Linked DNA regions of Homo sapiens: regions 1, 2 and 3 are each linked to region 4. Evidence: promoter capture Hi-C in 16 types of primary human blood cells and fetal thymus (Javierre and others, 2016). All regions are on one chromosome and are shown on one strand. The core of a region is centred on a gene start or on the middle of the fragment in contact, and the rest is flanking DNA. Distances in the headings are between cores, read along the strand shown.

The links. The method cuts DNA at HindIII sites, captures the fragments that hold promoters and counts their contacts. A CHiCAGO score of 5 or more calls a contact.
Region 1: a contact is called between a fragment that was not itself captured here and the fragment with the promoter of GAB4 in region 4, in 1 of 17 cell types (total CD4 T cells). The highest score is 5.0, in total CD4 T cells.
Region 2: a contact is called between a fragment that was not itself captured here and the fragment with the promoter of GAB4 in region 4, in 1 of 17 cell types (fetal thymus). The highest score is 5.0, in fetal thymus.
Region 3: a contact is called between a fragment that was not itself captured here and the fragment with the promoter of GAB4 in region 4, in 1 of 17 cell types (M2 macrophages). The highest score is 5.1, in M2 macrophages.

What each region holds. Positions count from the first base shown.
Region 1 is chr22:17,499,706-17,503,719 of GRCh38, forward strand. It overlaps CECR2 (CECR2 histone acetyl-lysine reader), which reads left to right. Exons shown (of 19, transcript NM_001290047.2): 5 at 926-1,030; 6 at 3,377-3,426. Among named protein-coding and RNA genes, the nearest start is that of SLC25A18, 62 kb to the right of the region's middle. The HindIII fragment of the contact is 2,192 bases long and covers 602-2,793 here.
Region 2 is chr22:17,458,067-17,461,625 of GRCh38, forward strand. All of the region lies in intron 1 of CECR2 (CECR2 histone acetyl-lysine reader), which reads left to right. Among named protein-coding and RNA genes, the nearest start is that of CECR2, 90 kb to the left of the region's middle. RefSeq lists a silencer at 1,922-2,122. The HindIII fragment of the contact is 3,284 bases long and covers 1-3,123 here.
Region 3 is chr22:17,439,698-17,443,743 of GRCh38, forward strand. The region is part of intron 1 of CECR2 (CECR2 histone acetyl-lysine reader); the gene reads left to right. Among named protein-coding and RNA genes, the nearest start is that of CECR2, 72 kb to the left of the region's middle. The HindIII fragment of the contact is 733 bases long and covers 1,829-2,561 here.
Region 4 is chr22:17,006,596-17,010,376 of GRCh38, forward strand. GAB4 (GRB2 associated binding protein family member 4) reads right to left here and starts at 1,627. Exons shown (of 10, transcript NM_001037814.1): 1 at 1,346-1,627. The coding sequence starts at 1,519. The HindIII fragment of the contact is 7,120 bases long and covers 1-3,781 here.

The DNA of each region.
Region 1 (4,014 bases), core at 448-2,947, 490 kb after region 4:
AAAAAGGAATTAATTCTCTGCTACCAGAGGGGTTAAATATACTTTTTTAATCTGAAGTTCTTGATAGGAGGTTTCTGAGAAATGCCACTCCTCTTGCCACAGGCTATTTTAATATAGCAGGTTTCTTCTCAGCAGCACAATCATTTCACTGCAGTAACAATTTCATCTTGCATCATCAGTCCTTGAGATCTCCTTATTTCGACTAGAATTAATGATGTAGTTTATGCCAGGCGCAGTGGCTCATGCCTGTAATCCCAGCACTCTGGGAGGCCGAGGCGGGCGGATCACGAGGTCAGGAGATCGAGACCATCCTGGCTAATACGGTGAAACCCTGTCTCTACTAAAAATACAAAAAATTAGCCAGGCGTGGTGGCGGGCACCTGTAGTCCCAGCTACTCGGGAGGCTGAGGCAGGAGAATGGTGTGAACCCGGGAGGCTGATCTTGCAGTGAGCCGAGATCGCACCACTGCACTCCAGCCTGGGCGACAGAGCGAGACTCCATCAAAAAAAAAAAAAAAAAAAGAATTTAATGATGTAGTTTATGAACGTTAGTATCCATCAGTTTAAGAACAGAAGGAATTTAAATGATGCCTGAAACATAAGCTTTACTAAGTAAGGAAGAGGCCGCATTTCCATAGCATCCCAAAACAATGCTAACCTCTTATTTAGGCTTTCTTACTGCTAGGAGAATGCTTACTCTTCGGAAGGTGTTAGTTAGATCTTAAGCACATTTTAGTATTGCAAAATGTTAGTTTTCCTCAGATCCACAGTCTAATAATGAAGACTGGAAGTTGCTGTTCCCTTTTCCTTTCACTGCTACATTTAATCCTTTTTGGTAATCTCATGGCCAGAAATACTGTTTTAAAATCATATGTAGCAATGCCAATCCTGTGCCAGAACATTTCTATTTAATATTATTTATTAGGGAAAGTGAAGGACAAAAAAATGTCTCAAGTATTCCTGGAAAAACGGGAAAAAGAAGAGGAAGACCCCCAAAACGGAAGAAACTGCAGGAGGAGATTCTGTTGAGGTAAGAAAATCTTGTTAGTTGTGGTCATAGACCATGGCAGAAGGGACCTTAATTCATTTATTCCTTTTTCTTTATTTTGCCTGTGCCATGGGAAGCACATTATTATAGCAACCTGAAACTGAGTCCTTATGAAATTACCACATGTGCAGTACAGTCAGGAAGCCCTTAGTGTGTGACATCTGGCAAGTCACCTCCCCTCTCTAAGCGAGTCCTCTTACTAGACGATGGATGTGCACTTAATGAGGATTATATTGAACAAGACAGTTTTTTTCATTCTTCAATTTTATATTTAATTTTAGCAAAGAAAGATACTTGGGGGATTTTCTTTTATATGTCATTATCTTCTAGGAAATTTCACCATGTGAATCTTGCTATAGGACTTTTCAAAATCTGACCTATGCTGTGTAAATACACTTTTTACTTAAGGATCAGCTCTATCACTAAGCCTATTGAAGTGAGGCTGTATTCTTAAAAATTCTGATAACTCAGGACAAGTGGCTTCTTCCCTTCCTACTTAATCTAAATGCTTGAGTTAGGCTGAATTTCACCCTGTCACTTTTTAACCACTAAGAAATATTTCTGGGAAATCAGATTAAGAATATAGATCACTCAGGAGATCGAGACCATCCTGGCTAACACGGTGAAACCCCGTCTCTACTAAAAATACAAAAAATTAGCCAGTCGTGGTGGCGGGTGCCTGTAGTCCCAGCTACTCGGGAGGCTGAGGCAGGAGAATGACGTGAACCTGGGAGGCAGAGCTTGCAGTGAGCCGAGATTATGCCACTGCACTCCAGCCTGGGCGACACAGCGATACTCCATCTCAAAAAAAAAAAGAATGTAGATCACTCAGATCCTGATTTTAACTCAATCAGCATCCACTTAACTTTACAGAAGTTCAGCTTCAGATTGCAGCTGCCTATTTCTTGCTTATCCGTTTCTGTGACAAATGTCCTGTAATTACTTAACGTTTTATGTATCAACACCTGTTTCCGGGTTTGTTAGGATTTCACACGTCCTTCGATATTCAGAAAGCTGCATGATACCTGTCTCCGTTTCCCCATAAGTATCAAGAATCACAGTAGCTTAGGGTTGGGACTGTAGAATCATTTTAACAAGCATCCATGGACTTGTGCTACCCTCTACTGGTGACTTTTTTCCTTTAGAGCTGTGTGTGTAAGCCAGTATTTAAATATTTTTTCATTAAATTTAAAATTCAGTTTCTGGTTCACGCTGGCCACGTTTCAGATGCTCAGCAGCCACATGGTTTATTGGATAATGCCAATATAGAACATTTTCATTCTCATAGAAACTTTAATCGAAAACAAGCGAAAAGTCCACAGAGTGTCCTTTCTGTTTCAGGGATACAAGTGAAAATGATACTTCATCCTAATGCGTTATACACTTTGCATTTTGTCATTTAATCTCCAACGTCCCTGTGAGGTAGGCACTATTAATAGCTCCATTTTGGGGGAAAGTTAATTAACTTTCCTGAGGTCACATTGTAAGTGGCACAGCTTGAATAGAGGCATTCCCCCTTCGGAGCCCATGCTCTTAACCCTCTGCCTTAGGTAAGGATCAATTATAATAAATACACCTGTCTTCAGTGCGGCCCTGAATCAGGGAGGAGGACATTGGAATCCCTACAGTTCTTTTTTCTTGGCATTTAATTATTAACAGTTGCATCTCTCTCTTGACTGGAGCAGTGATAAAAAACAAGAACAAACAAACAAAAAAAACAGTGCATCTGTTTGATTTCCAAAAAAAGCTTTAAAAGTTACTGTTTTCTGGCTGGGCACGGTGGCTCACGCCTGTAATCCCAACACTTTGGGAGGCCAAGGCAGGCAGATCATGAGGTCAGGAGTTCAAGACCAGCCTGGCCAACATGGTGAAATCCCGTCTCTACTAAAAAATACAAAAATTAGCTGCACCTGGTGGCGGGTGCCTATAGTCCCAGCTACTCAGGAGGCTGAGGCAGGAGAATCATTTGAACCTGGGAGGCGGAGGTTGCAGTGAGCTGAAATCGCGCCATTGCACTCCAGCCTAAGTGACAGGGCAAGACTCCGTCTCAAAAAAATAAAAATAAAAAATAAAAGTTACTGTTTTCTTATGCATTGATACTGTTGCCATAACATAGGGTAGCTGTATGTCAGTACTTCCCTCCTAGACCAGCATGCCTGCATCTTAGTGTTCATTTATTCAGCGTTCCGCCTCCAAGCCTTGTCCCCTTAACACACACACATACACTCTCTTTGTGTTAAATTAATGGGTTCTACCATCCTGGGGTGGCACAGAACAATTTTGGACCTGTCTTTGTTTTAATTGGCACCTCTTTTTCCTGTGTTTCAGTGAAAAGCAGGAAGAAAATTCCTTGGCATCCGAGCCACAGACAAGACATGGTAATGTTCTTTACTGGCATTTAGAAAGAATTAAATAAATATGATTCATTTATGCTAGGGTGTTGACTCTTTTTCTAGAGTCATACAAAGTAAAGGTTATTGCAATAGCCTTTTACCTACCCCCTGTACTCTTCTTCAGTTCTCCTCCTCACACCTTATCCTGTGCCCAGCTCATCATCTGACTAAGGATTAAGATCAGAACTAGATCTTTTCACTAGTGCCCTGTTTACTGGGGACAGTGTAATAGACACCTTAACGTTGGAGTGAATAACCAGCTTCTCAAAGAGAGGTCTTTTTAATGTCAGTGCTTCATGACACAATGGTTTCCTTATAGGTTTACTACATACTGGTTTCCTACCTAGATTTTAATTTTGTAATCCAAATAACATAAAAATGGGAGGCACATACCAGTTTGCACAGTGTAGTTGAGGCAGGGTAGACTCAGCAAAGACTCAAAATCAAAACCATTTCTGTCAATATATTTAATCATTTCTAGACTGTGAATATCTATCTTGTTAAATTCACAGTAGTTATATTTGTATTGCCTTTAGACATTACATTTTTTTTTAGTTGTTAACAATGACTTTA
Region 2 (3,559 bases), core at 232-2,731, 450 kb after region 4:
ACTGTTCTTCATCTTAATTGTGGGGGTGGCTGCATGACTCAATACATATGATAAAACTGCGTAGAACTGGCCGGGTGCAGTGGCTTACACCTGTAATCCCAGCACTTGGGGAGGCTGAGGCGGGTGGATCACGAGATCAGGAGTTCCAGACCAGCCTGGCCAAGATGGTGAAACCCCATCTCTACTAAAAATACAAAAATTAGCCAGGTGTGGTGGCGGGCGCCTGTAATCCCACCTGCTTGAGAGGCTAAGGCAGAGAATTGCTTGAACCCAAGAGTTGGAGGTTGCAGTGAGCTGAGATTGCACCAATGCACTACAACCTGGGCGACAGAGCAAGTCTCTGTCTCCAAAAAAAAAAAAAAAGCATAGAACCACATAACACACACATGACTGCATGTAAAACTGGTGCAGTTTTAATACGGTGGGTAAAATGGTGCCATTGTGAGTTTTTTTTTTCTTTTTAATATTATAGTTATGTAAGATGTTACCATTGGGGAAATTCTGATGAAGATCACATGGGATTTCCGTATACAGTGTTTATATAACCTATAATTATTTCCAAGTAAAAAGTGTTATTTTTTAAAACAGAATGAATAGTAAAATCTAACAGAAAACACTTAGGTACATATGGATCATGCAAGGAAGAATTAAAGCTACAGGGTTATTATTACCAAATATTCTTGGAAAGCACTGATTTAAAAACAGAGAGTACTTTGCTGACTTTTTTTGTTATGAAGGAGCAGGTTTCTTGAGTTTACTGTTTGTATTACTCTGTGTGTCTAACCTAAGTCTAGGTACTTAGTTTTAAAATACCTTTAAAAGGAGCAAAAAAATCTCACTTCAGGAGCTTTAAAAATTGTGAAGTTAGCACATTTAAATAATAGTGACCTATAGCTTTGTGAAAATGAGTCATTATGAATTACTGTCTACATCAGTTTGAGAAGAAAGCAACTTATACTTGGAAAAAGTAAAAGCGAATCATCCCTTCTTACCCTAAGCACTTCTCTCCCTTCTGATTATTGAGTTACACAAAAGTATTTCAAGGACAGACCAAGGAAGCCTAGATTCCAAAGGATTGATTTTAGTTGTCCGTTGCATATTCCAGTTACAGTAAGAACCTGCAGGGTGATATACTCAGGGCCTAAGGACCCCCAGGGTCATTCTAGGGCTTATATTTTAGAAAAAAGATCCAGAGCAAAGATGCAGTTTCTTTCTTTCTTCCTCTTTTCCTTTGCCCTGCCCGGCCCTGCATCCCAGCCCTGTGTCCCAGCCTAGAGCATAGTGGCATGACCACAGCTCACTGCCTCTGCAACTTCCCGGGTTCAAGCTATCCTCCCATCTCAGCCACCCGAGTAGCTGGGACTACGGTTGAGCGCCACAACGCCCAGCCAATTTTTTGTGTGTGTTTTTTTTTGTTTTTGGTTTTTGTAAAGACAGAGTTTCACCACATTGCCCAGGCTGGTCTTGAACTCCTGAGTTCAAGGGACTCCCCCGGCGTCGGCCTCACAAAGTGTTGGGATTACAGGTGTGAGCCACAGCACCTGCCCAAAGATGCAATTTCATACTACCAAAAATACAGAGAAATAGAAAAAGAGAACAATGAAAGCCACATGCCAAAATTATTATAGTTGCTTCTTTGTAGCCACTTTGCAAACTCCTGAACTTCTTTGTGATGGAAGTCTGTTGTGCATCCTTCACTCTTTGAAAATCTTCAACACAGGAAACCTGGCTTTTCACATGGGTTTTCCAAATATGCAACCTAAAGCAACTGTCTTGAAACAAATTCTTCAGAAGCCTCTTATCCTTTTAACTCCTTAAGCTGAGCATGTAACTTTGTAAGCTGGGTTTATGAAGGGCCACATGTATTTATACCAGTAGCAGCTTAGTATGTGCTGTGCGGGTGTTTCTCAGGGTATTTATTCTACTCCATTGATCTATTTCTTCTCTTCCTCTTCCTTTCTCCAGCTTTCTGAGTAGTTGGGACTACATATTCGTGTAACCATGCCTGGACTTCTTTATTTTTATAACTTCCTCTTCCAGCCCAGAAGGCAGTTTGGTGTCTTTGATAGCCCCTCACCTATGACACCTCTCTGTATACACTTGCAACTTTGAAGTCTTCTCTGAGGTTTCTTCTTTGGAAAAAATTTAGATTTAATTTTCTGAGACAGAGTTTTGCTCTGTCACCCAGAATGGAGGACAATGGCATGATCTTGGTTCACTACAACCTCTGTCTCCTGGGTTCAAGCAATTCTCCCGCCTCAGCCTCCCGACTAGCTGGGATTACAGGTGCGTGCCACCATGCCCGGCTAAGTTTTCTATTTTCAGTAGAGACAGGATTTCGCCATGTTGGCCAGGCTGGTCACTAACTCCTGACCTCAGGTGATCCGCCCGTCTCGGCCTCCCAAAGTGCAGGGATTGCAGGCGTGAGCCACCGCGCCCAGCCTCGATTTGGATTCTTTAGAGGGATTGAAGGTTATTCACATGTGATTCCTGTACTCCCCAGTGACCCAGGTGTCTTGATTCTGGGGCTTCAGTTTCTTGCCCCATCAGTTTTCTCTTCCCCTCTCATTTTAGTTCAGACCTTCAGGTTGACAAGTCTTAGATTGTATGGAGAGTCTCTGCCTCTAGCCAGTGCCTGTCATCCCCGGTATCCTTATGTCCCAGTCGTTGAATCACATTAATAAACACTATCTACACAGCTGCAGCCTATCTTTTCACATCACAGCTTTCTCTCCCACAAAGTGAAACTTCATTTTTGGGGTGTAGGGGAAGGAAATCTCTTATGTTTATATCAAATCTTTATTTTCTTGCCTAGGACTTCATCCTTTCTAGGTCTCTTCTGGGGTTAGCAGCAGTGTTTCATCCCCACAAAAACTAACCAAGTTTGGCTTAGTCTTAGCTGGCCTTTAGTTCCATCCTGGAGACCTGTTTGGGGGTGCTGTGTGTCTCTTTGTAGACCTGTCAATCCTGTGGTTGCTTCCCTAATTCGCAGCATCAGGGAATCACCCATTACCGCGATGGGTTTCCCCGGTCGTGCTGCTCTGCCAGCAGCTGTAGCAGCTCTTATTTGTAGAAATGGGACGTTCTGTTTATTGTAGGTCCTAGTCAATCTGATATGAGGAAAGCTTCTCTTCTCTTTCTCTGTTGGTTCAGAGTTTATTCTTTTTTATCCAAAGCAACTGCTGATACACAACTTACTGATATTAAGTTTGATTCCCACCAGTCTCCTAAAACAATGGTGATTTTTTTTAAGAAAGTTATTTCCTTTATCCTCTTTTAAATATTCTGTTTGTGAGACAGTATTTTTCAAGTCCCATTCTCTTTCAAGTATTCAAAGATGGTGGATGCCTCAGGCAGAAAAATAGATACAACAAACTCCCTATATTTCCCACCCCATCTGTACTTCCTGTTGGGGTTAGGACTCATTTAGAATTTACCATCATTTGCTAGGCACTTTCTCCTGAAACTCCTGGCGAGGAGTTTGATGGCTTTCGTTATCAGTAGACCAATTTATCCAGGTAAAAGCAATTAGCATTCTCCAGTGAGCCCAAGTGTGTGA
Region 3 (4,046 bases), core at 945-3,444, 430 kb after region 4:
ATAAATATATGTACTCTCATTGCTCCAGTAATGCCAGTCCTGGAATTTTAATCAATGGGTACAAAACAACTGCCGTGCAATGGACAAGGAATGTCATTGCAGCGTGGTTCTGTGTGGCCTAAAATGGAGAACAGAGTGAAAGCCCGTCATTAGCGGGGTGGCTGAATAGGATGTTACCTGCGTACCGTGGAGTATTAGCCCACCTTTTAATAGAATGAAATGGACCTACACTATACCACTTGACTTGGAGAGATTTGCACAAGATAGAAAATGTGCAGGCAAGCATGGGTAGTATCAGTCTATTAGAAAAGGCCTACGCCCATACATTGATGCATGTGTCTGCATGTATGTATATATGAATATGATTACATTGAAAAAAAAAACAAAAAAAGTATACTTGTTTGTATATGAGGGGAGTTACTGAAGTAGGGAGTAAAAAAAGGAAAGAAAATTGTATACAAACAACCCCCAGAATGAATAGTATGATTGTTTTTTGAATTTATATAAAACTGTGTGTGTGTGTGTTGTGGGGGGTATCTGTATTTATTCACATCATTTTTTAAAAGGAAAAACTAAAATAGTCATTAGTCATTCAGGCTCCATCAGCTTAAAGATTTGTCAGAGGGCTTCCTAGCTCCCACTCGATGTTGTAAAATAGGCTCACCTTTATTACATTCCCAATTACTTGGCCTCTTTTTTGCCTTGTTGATTGAAAAATGGAACTCTTTCTCTGTCTGTTATGGCATAAAAACTTTATGGAAAAGACAAAGTGCCTCAGAGAAATGACTCTCTGTAGGTCTCACTAGTAACTAAGGAACTAAAATTTGAGTGGAATTCAGGTCTGTCCTTACACTTATTATGATATCCCACACTGTCTATTCCCTGTCTCTTGAAGTGAAGCTGGGACTTTTATTGATTTATTGATCTGATATCTGACTTGAAGTAATGAGAGGGAAGGTTGTATAGCATTATATAGCAAAGTGATGTAAGAAAACAAGAAAAACTTGATTTCAAGTCTCCGAACAGATTTATTAGAAACAGAAATTTGACTACCACCCTCTGATCCCTACCCCTCCACTCCTTTCTCAACATGATGATTATACAATCATTACAGACATCCCCTGTGTTTTCTGGGACTTTTTTTTAGTAACCAAATGTTCAAGAAAGTGTAGTGCCTTGTATCTGTTGATGATTATATTTCTAATTTCATGGGTATTCAGCTGACTGTCAGGTCTTATTAACACTGTTTTTGGGGGGGAGGGGCAGGGGGCAGGGGGCGGGATGGAGTCTCACTCTGTCACCCAGACTGGAGTGCAGTGGAGTGATCTCAGCTTACCACAACCCGGGTTCAAGTGATTGTCCTGCCACAGCCTCCAGAGTAGTTGGGATTACAGGTGCATGCCACCACGCCCGGCTAATTTTTATATTTTTAATAGAGATGGGGTTTCACCATGTTGGCCAGGCTGGTCTCGAACTCCTGACCTCAGGTGATCCGCCTGCCTTGGCTTCTCAAAAGTGCTGGGATTACAGGCGTGAGCCACCATGCCTGGCCTATTAACACATTAAAATGATGCGTGTTGAGGGAGCAAGTATACTGGTTGTTGTTGGGAATCTGGGATGGCCCTAGATAGATCTTTCCTGCTGCCAGATATAGGAGGAATATGATGGAACGCACAGCTGTGATACTGTACTAGGCTGATAATCTTAACACAGAGCCCTTCAATTTTATTTTAGTTTAGCAAATAATATTTGTATTGTAGTATGGTAATTTTAAATCACTCACCATGATTTGTATAGAATAGTGCGTCATTTATTCTAACGTGATGAAAGCTTTCTTTTAAAAAGTAGCCGGGGGAGATTGACTAGGGGTTAAATGCTTTCCCTGTGTCTTACTCTGTGGACCCCACCCCCCGTTACTTGAATGAATGAATGAATCCTTCTTTTTTGAGGATATTGCCAGAGGATAATAAGTTATCTAGATGTCTCAGTCCTGGATCTATGAATAGATTGTTTTTCCAGTCTTGATAGATTATTTCTGGTTTGAAGAATTTTACATGGAAACAAGATTAAGAAAGATGATAAATAATTGTTTGGCTAAAGTCCTTTATGAAACAGAATTTACAGAAATGTGATTAAGATGTATAACTCACCTTGTAAGAATTTCATGGAACATGTTGAAGTATAAAATAAAGTTCCATAGGGAGGTGATATCACACACCATACTCTGTCTTACAATTTTTGTCTCTCACAAGGAAAGGATTTGGATGTTCTGAACATATTTCTCTGCAGGAAGCGGGTGGCAGACCTGTTGACTTCATTTTCATTGACCATCTTCTACTAGAATCAAACTCTGGTCTCTTTGAAATTATACAAAGTTGGGAAGCTGTTTACATTATCAACAGCTTTACCTATTTTGAATTCAGAAGAAGATTCAAGGTGGGAAAGACAGAAAAAACCGCAAAACAAGAGCATGTCATACTAGAAGAGTTCCGTGTGAAATTCAGAATTTGGTCCCCTTAACACTATTCACTTTGGAGCTCATGGGAATCCATGGTGAGGGAAGCTTATTAAAAAATGCAGATCAGGCCAGGTGTGGTGGCTCACACCTATAATCCCAGAACTTCAGGAGGCCAAGATGGGAGAGGATAGCTTGAGGCTAGGAGTTCTGGAGCAGCCTGAGCAACATAGCGAGACCCCCATTTCTACAAATACATATATATTTTTAAATTAGTTGGGCGTAGTTGATGCACATCTTGTAGTCCTAGCTACTAGGGAGGCCGAGGCAGGAGGATCACTGGAGCCCAGGAGTTCAAGGCTTGCAGTGAGCTTTGATCACACCACAGGTTTTTTTGTTTGTTTTGTGTTTTTTGAGATGGAATCTCACTCTGTCGCCCAGGCTGGAGTGCAGTGGTGCGGTCTCAGCTCACTGCAGCCTCCACCTCCCGGATTCAAGCAGTTCTCTGCCTCAGCCTCCCGAGTAGCTGGGATTACAGGCGCCCGCCACCACCGCCTGGCTAATTTTTGTATTTTTAGTAGAGACGGGGTTTCACCATCTTGGCCAGGCTGGTCTTGAACTCCTGACCTCATGATCCACCCTCCTCGGCCTCCCAAAGTGCTGGGATTACAGGAGTGAGCCACCGCGCCTGGCCAATCACTAGATGATAGTAGTAATTCACAGGCTTCCCTAGAATCATTCACATTTTTGCTTCATGACTGAATGAGTCATAGGTGTTAATGGCATTTTGCATTTGCAGTTGTTTTATTTTTTAAACTTTATCTTGGAAGAAAACCCTTTCTTCTATTGGAATAGTGGAACCTTTTTCTATTCTTTCATCAGGCTCCATTTACTTGCTGTCCAGTCTGCCAGTGGTATGTCCTGGTGTGTTTCTTTGTACTGTTTGCTTCTGAGCGTCTCTTCCTGCCCTCTAGCTCGTTTTCTTAAAGGACAAACGAAACTTCTCAGCAGCCATTCTACAAATCCTTAAATCCATAATGCCCAGGAAAGCAAGGCAGGTAGAATGTTGGGCATCCAGTTAGAGCTGATGTGCTTTAAAGGTAAGTTTCCCGTTTTTAGTTTTAACAGTCAATAATGTTGCTCTGGGCGATTTCTCTATTAAAATTCTGTTTGGCTGTAACTTGTTGGTAATTGTAATAATATTTTACATAGTTTTATTATCTGTGGAATTAATCTTAGAATATTCAGAAAGGAAAAAAGGGCAGAATCCCTTTAAGCAGCAGGAGTCTTAGAGACTCCCTGGGAGCCAAGGGCAGATGGTGGAAAGGCACCAGCAGGGAGGAGACAAGATCATATTCAGTCCCAGGAGTTTACTCATCTCTAATTCTGACCCAGAAGAAGAGATGGAAAAAAAGTTACTGCTTAAAATTGACTCCGGCTTAGCAGCTTCAGTTGTCTGAAGTAGGCAGCGAGGACGGGCCTTTCTCTGCCGCAGCACCCCGCACCTTCACATCGCCTGTTCTGTGCACCACTGTTGTCTTTAGAGCGACTTCCGGGTGACTCCCCACTCCTCGTAATCTGCTTCCTGGTT
Region 4 (3,781 bases), core at 377-2,876:
GGAACCAACCCAAATGCCCATCAATAATAGACTGGATAAAGAAAATATGGCACATATACACTATGGAATATTATGCAGCCATAAAAAAGAATGAGTTCATGTTCTTTACAGGGACATGGATGAAGCTGGAAATCATCATTCTCAGCAAACTTACACTGGAACAGAAAACCAAACACCGCCATGTTCTCACTCATAAGTGGCAGCTGAACAATGAGAACATATGGGCACAGGGACGGGAGCATTACACAATGTGGCCTATTGGGGTTGGGGGGCAAGGGAAGGGATAGCATTACGAGAAATACCTAATGTAGATGATGGGTTGATGGGTGCAGCAAACCACCATGACACGTGTATATGTATGTAACAAACCTCCACGTTCTGCACATGTATCCCAGAACTTAAAGTATAATAAAAAATTGAAAAAAGAAATGGAGAAAGACAAGAACGCAGAATTGATCATACCCCATACCTCAGGGAAGCAGAGGAAAGGGAAGATGACTATAGGATCAGCTTATTCTGGAATAGATTCTTGAAGGGCTGGACCTGGGGCTAAGGAACAGGAGAGAAAAGCCTCTTCTATGTACCTTGGTATAATCATAGTGACTCCTAACAATTACCGCTTCCTCAGTAAAATTGTTGAAATTTAGAACAACACTCTTCAAATTAGCCACTAGGGGAAAGGGCAACCAATCTTCTTTTTTTCTAAATCGTTTAACCACATGAATTAATATATAGAAAACTACACTGCAGTGCACACTGTCCCTCAGCAGGCGTGGTGGCATGGAAGGACGCGAACGACCCCGGGAGTGGCGGGTGAGGAGGGAAGGGGAGCGAGCGGGTGCGAGGTGCCCGCGTTTTCCTGGGGCCCGGGAGGGAAAGGGAGAGGGTGTGAGGTGCCTGCCTTCTCGGGGCTTGGGAGGGAAGGTGAGCAGGTTTAAGGCGCCTGCCTTCCTTGGGGCCTGGGAGGGAAGGAGAGAGGGTGCGAGGTGCCCGCCATTCTCAGGGCCTGGGAGGGAAGGGGAGCGGGTGCGAGGTTCCTGCCGTTTTGCGAGGCTGCGGAGCCTGCTGTGTCCCCTTTCCCGCCCACTCTCCGACCTGCAGGCCCACGGCGCTCAAGGTAATAGGGTCCCCAGCCCTGGAATCAACTCCCTGGGTCTCGGAACGCAACCCACACAAACCTGGACCCTGTCTCTCACTGGCGGGGAGTCGCCTTCGCATGCAGACGTGGAGAAGTCGCCTCCACCCGCAGCTCCTCCCGTGGACCCAGGCCGCCTCCCCCACGCCCCTCCCGGAGTCCCCAGACCCTCCGTGGCGCTCCTGGTACCGCCCCCACTGCCCCACTCACAAAGAGCCTCAGCTTCTTCTCGGGGGGCGACTTCCTCAGCCAGCCGCTGTACAGCACGTGGCCACTTCTCGTGCTTCCGCCGGCGGGGCCACTTCCGGGCCACGAAGACAAAGGCGCAAATGCCGGGTCAGGTGGGCACAGCTCCCGGGAGGGTGAGGGGGACGGCAGGGACATGGGGGCTGCAGCTCACAGTGAAGGTGGGGGAGACAGGGCGAGAGGGCGTTGCTGGAGGTGGGGTGTGAGGGACGGCTTGCGATACCCTGGGACTGCGGGGTAGAAAGCGCAGTTCTAGGGGAGGTCGGGGTCAGAGGTGAAGCTCGTGGGGAGGGCGAGACCCGGGCGCAGGTGCTCACAGGCGAGGGCGGGGTTCAGGTTCCAGCTGGGCTTTGAGTTCCGGTTCAGGCTTCCATCTGTGGTTCCGGTTCCAATTTGAGGTGGAGTTTGGGATTAAAGTTTAGACGAGGCCTCTCGTTCAGGGTTTGCGTTGGGGATTGGGGTGGGGATTTGCACCCTGGGTCAGCCTGGGTGCATCTCATCGGGACCACCGGGGCGGGGGACATGGGCCGGGTGGCTCCTTGGGAGAAGAGGGACAGGGAGCGCAGCTGGTGGAGAGGACAAGAACGAGGGGCGCAGCTCATTCAGAGGGCCACAACAGAGTCTCAGGTGCTGAGTCCCATGCGCCAGATGAGGAAAGACAATGGAAGAGTTCAGGTTCCTGCTGGGGTTTGAGTTCCAGTTCGGGATTCGGCCCATGGTTTACCTTCTGACTTGAGTTGGGGTTTGGGGTCAAGGTTCAGGCTAGGACTTGAGTTCCGGGTTGCAGTTTGGGGGTGGGGTTAGGTTTCAGAGTGAGGGTTTGGGCCTGTTTGTGTTGTGTATGTTTGTGAATGTATTGGGATGTCACCGTGTGTACTTATGTCACGTGTGTGCACGCATCAGTGTGTGCATGTGTGAGTGTTCATTGAGTGTGGCACTGACAGCCAACCCCTCTCCTCCCATTTATGCCCCACTGTCTTATCCTGGTTGGGGTGGGCTTTACAAGTTCCTTCCCTGGGCCAGTTGGAGGTTCTCATGTTGCCTGGGGAGAGAAGGGAAGGAGAGAACAGGTCAAAGATGAGGGCAGCTTGGCCTCAACCAGACCCGGTGTCACGGGGACCAAGAAGCCGGAGGTCCTTGTCTCCTGCCTCTGGAGGAGCTTGGTTTGCTTCTTTGTTCACACATTGTGTGAAAGCACAGTTGGGGGCATCTGATATGCACAGGATCTGTTCTTGCCTCTGCAGATGTCTTAGAGAACAGGACAGACAAGGGGCCTCTTCAGTAAGCCATCCCCAATGTGCACTGCATGTCAGCTTACAAGAGGGGCACAGGGGCCCCATCAGGTAGCAGGGAGGATGCAAGGAAGAGTGTGTGGGGATGGGGGTGCTGGGTGGGGCCAGGTGAGTGGGTGCCTGGCTTCTCCTCAGAGCAAAGGAAAGTGCTGAAGAGTGTGAAACTGTGTGACATGTTATGCTTTATGTTTTGAGAATGGATTGCAGGAACAAGCAGACATGGGGGACCTGATGAGGGCCAATGGGATGTCCATAGAGATAAGATTTGGCTTGAGCTGGTGGGAAAAGTGGAGATGGAGCCACATGGAGGAAATTGCAGAGTCTTGAGACTGAGGAGACATGTGGGTGGATGAGATATGAGTAGTGACCCGACCCTGAGGTGGGGAATGGGGGGACAGCCCCGAGGGGAGGTTGGTGAGGTGTATTTGGACCTATTGGGTTGGAGCCCTAGGCAGCATCCTCATGGGAGGACCACTGGGTCCTGGTCAGGCAGACATGGTGCTCAGGGAGACACTGGATGAGGTGGGAGCCATAGACCCTCTGCTGATGGCAAGAATGGGGTTCCTGGAGGTGCTGGCTCCCTCTGCAGGCTGCAGTCATGGCGAGTCAATTCTAAACTCACCATCACAGCTCACACTGTAAAGGACACATACCTTAGTATAAATCAGTTAGCCAACGAGGCCACAGGGTACCCAGTTGGATCCTGCCCTGAGATGAGAGTAGGTTTGGATGGGGTGAGACGGGAGAGAGGCAGTGGCAGGAATGAGGCAGATAAGGTCTTCCTGGATGGAAGGGAGCTCAGCCCCTGCAGTGACCTCGTACCGACTGGGGCCTCAGCAGGAGCCCCGACCTGGGTCCCCGTGGGCCTCTGACTGTCTTCTCCTGGCCTCAGGGTGGAAAGAACCCTCTTCCAGAATATGTCCTCTCCAGCAACATTCTTCCAGCCCCCTACAGTGCGCACAATGGGAACTTCAGGAGAGTGCAGAGACTGCCACAGGGCATGGAAGGCAGGTGTTGCCCCAAGGTCTAGCCTGCCCAGGATGTTGGCTTTGATGACGGTTGGGGGCCACTGTGGGCGACTTATGAGTGTTCTGAGCCTTTTTGTGTG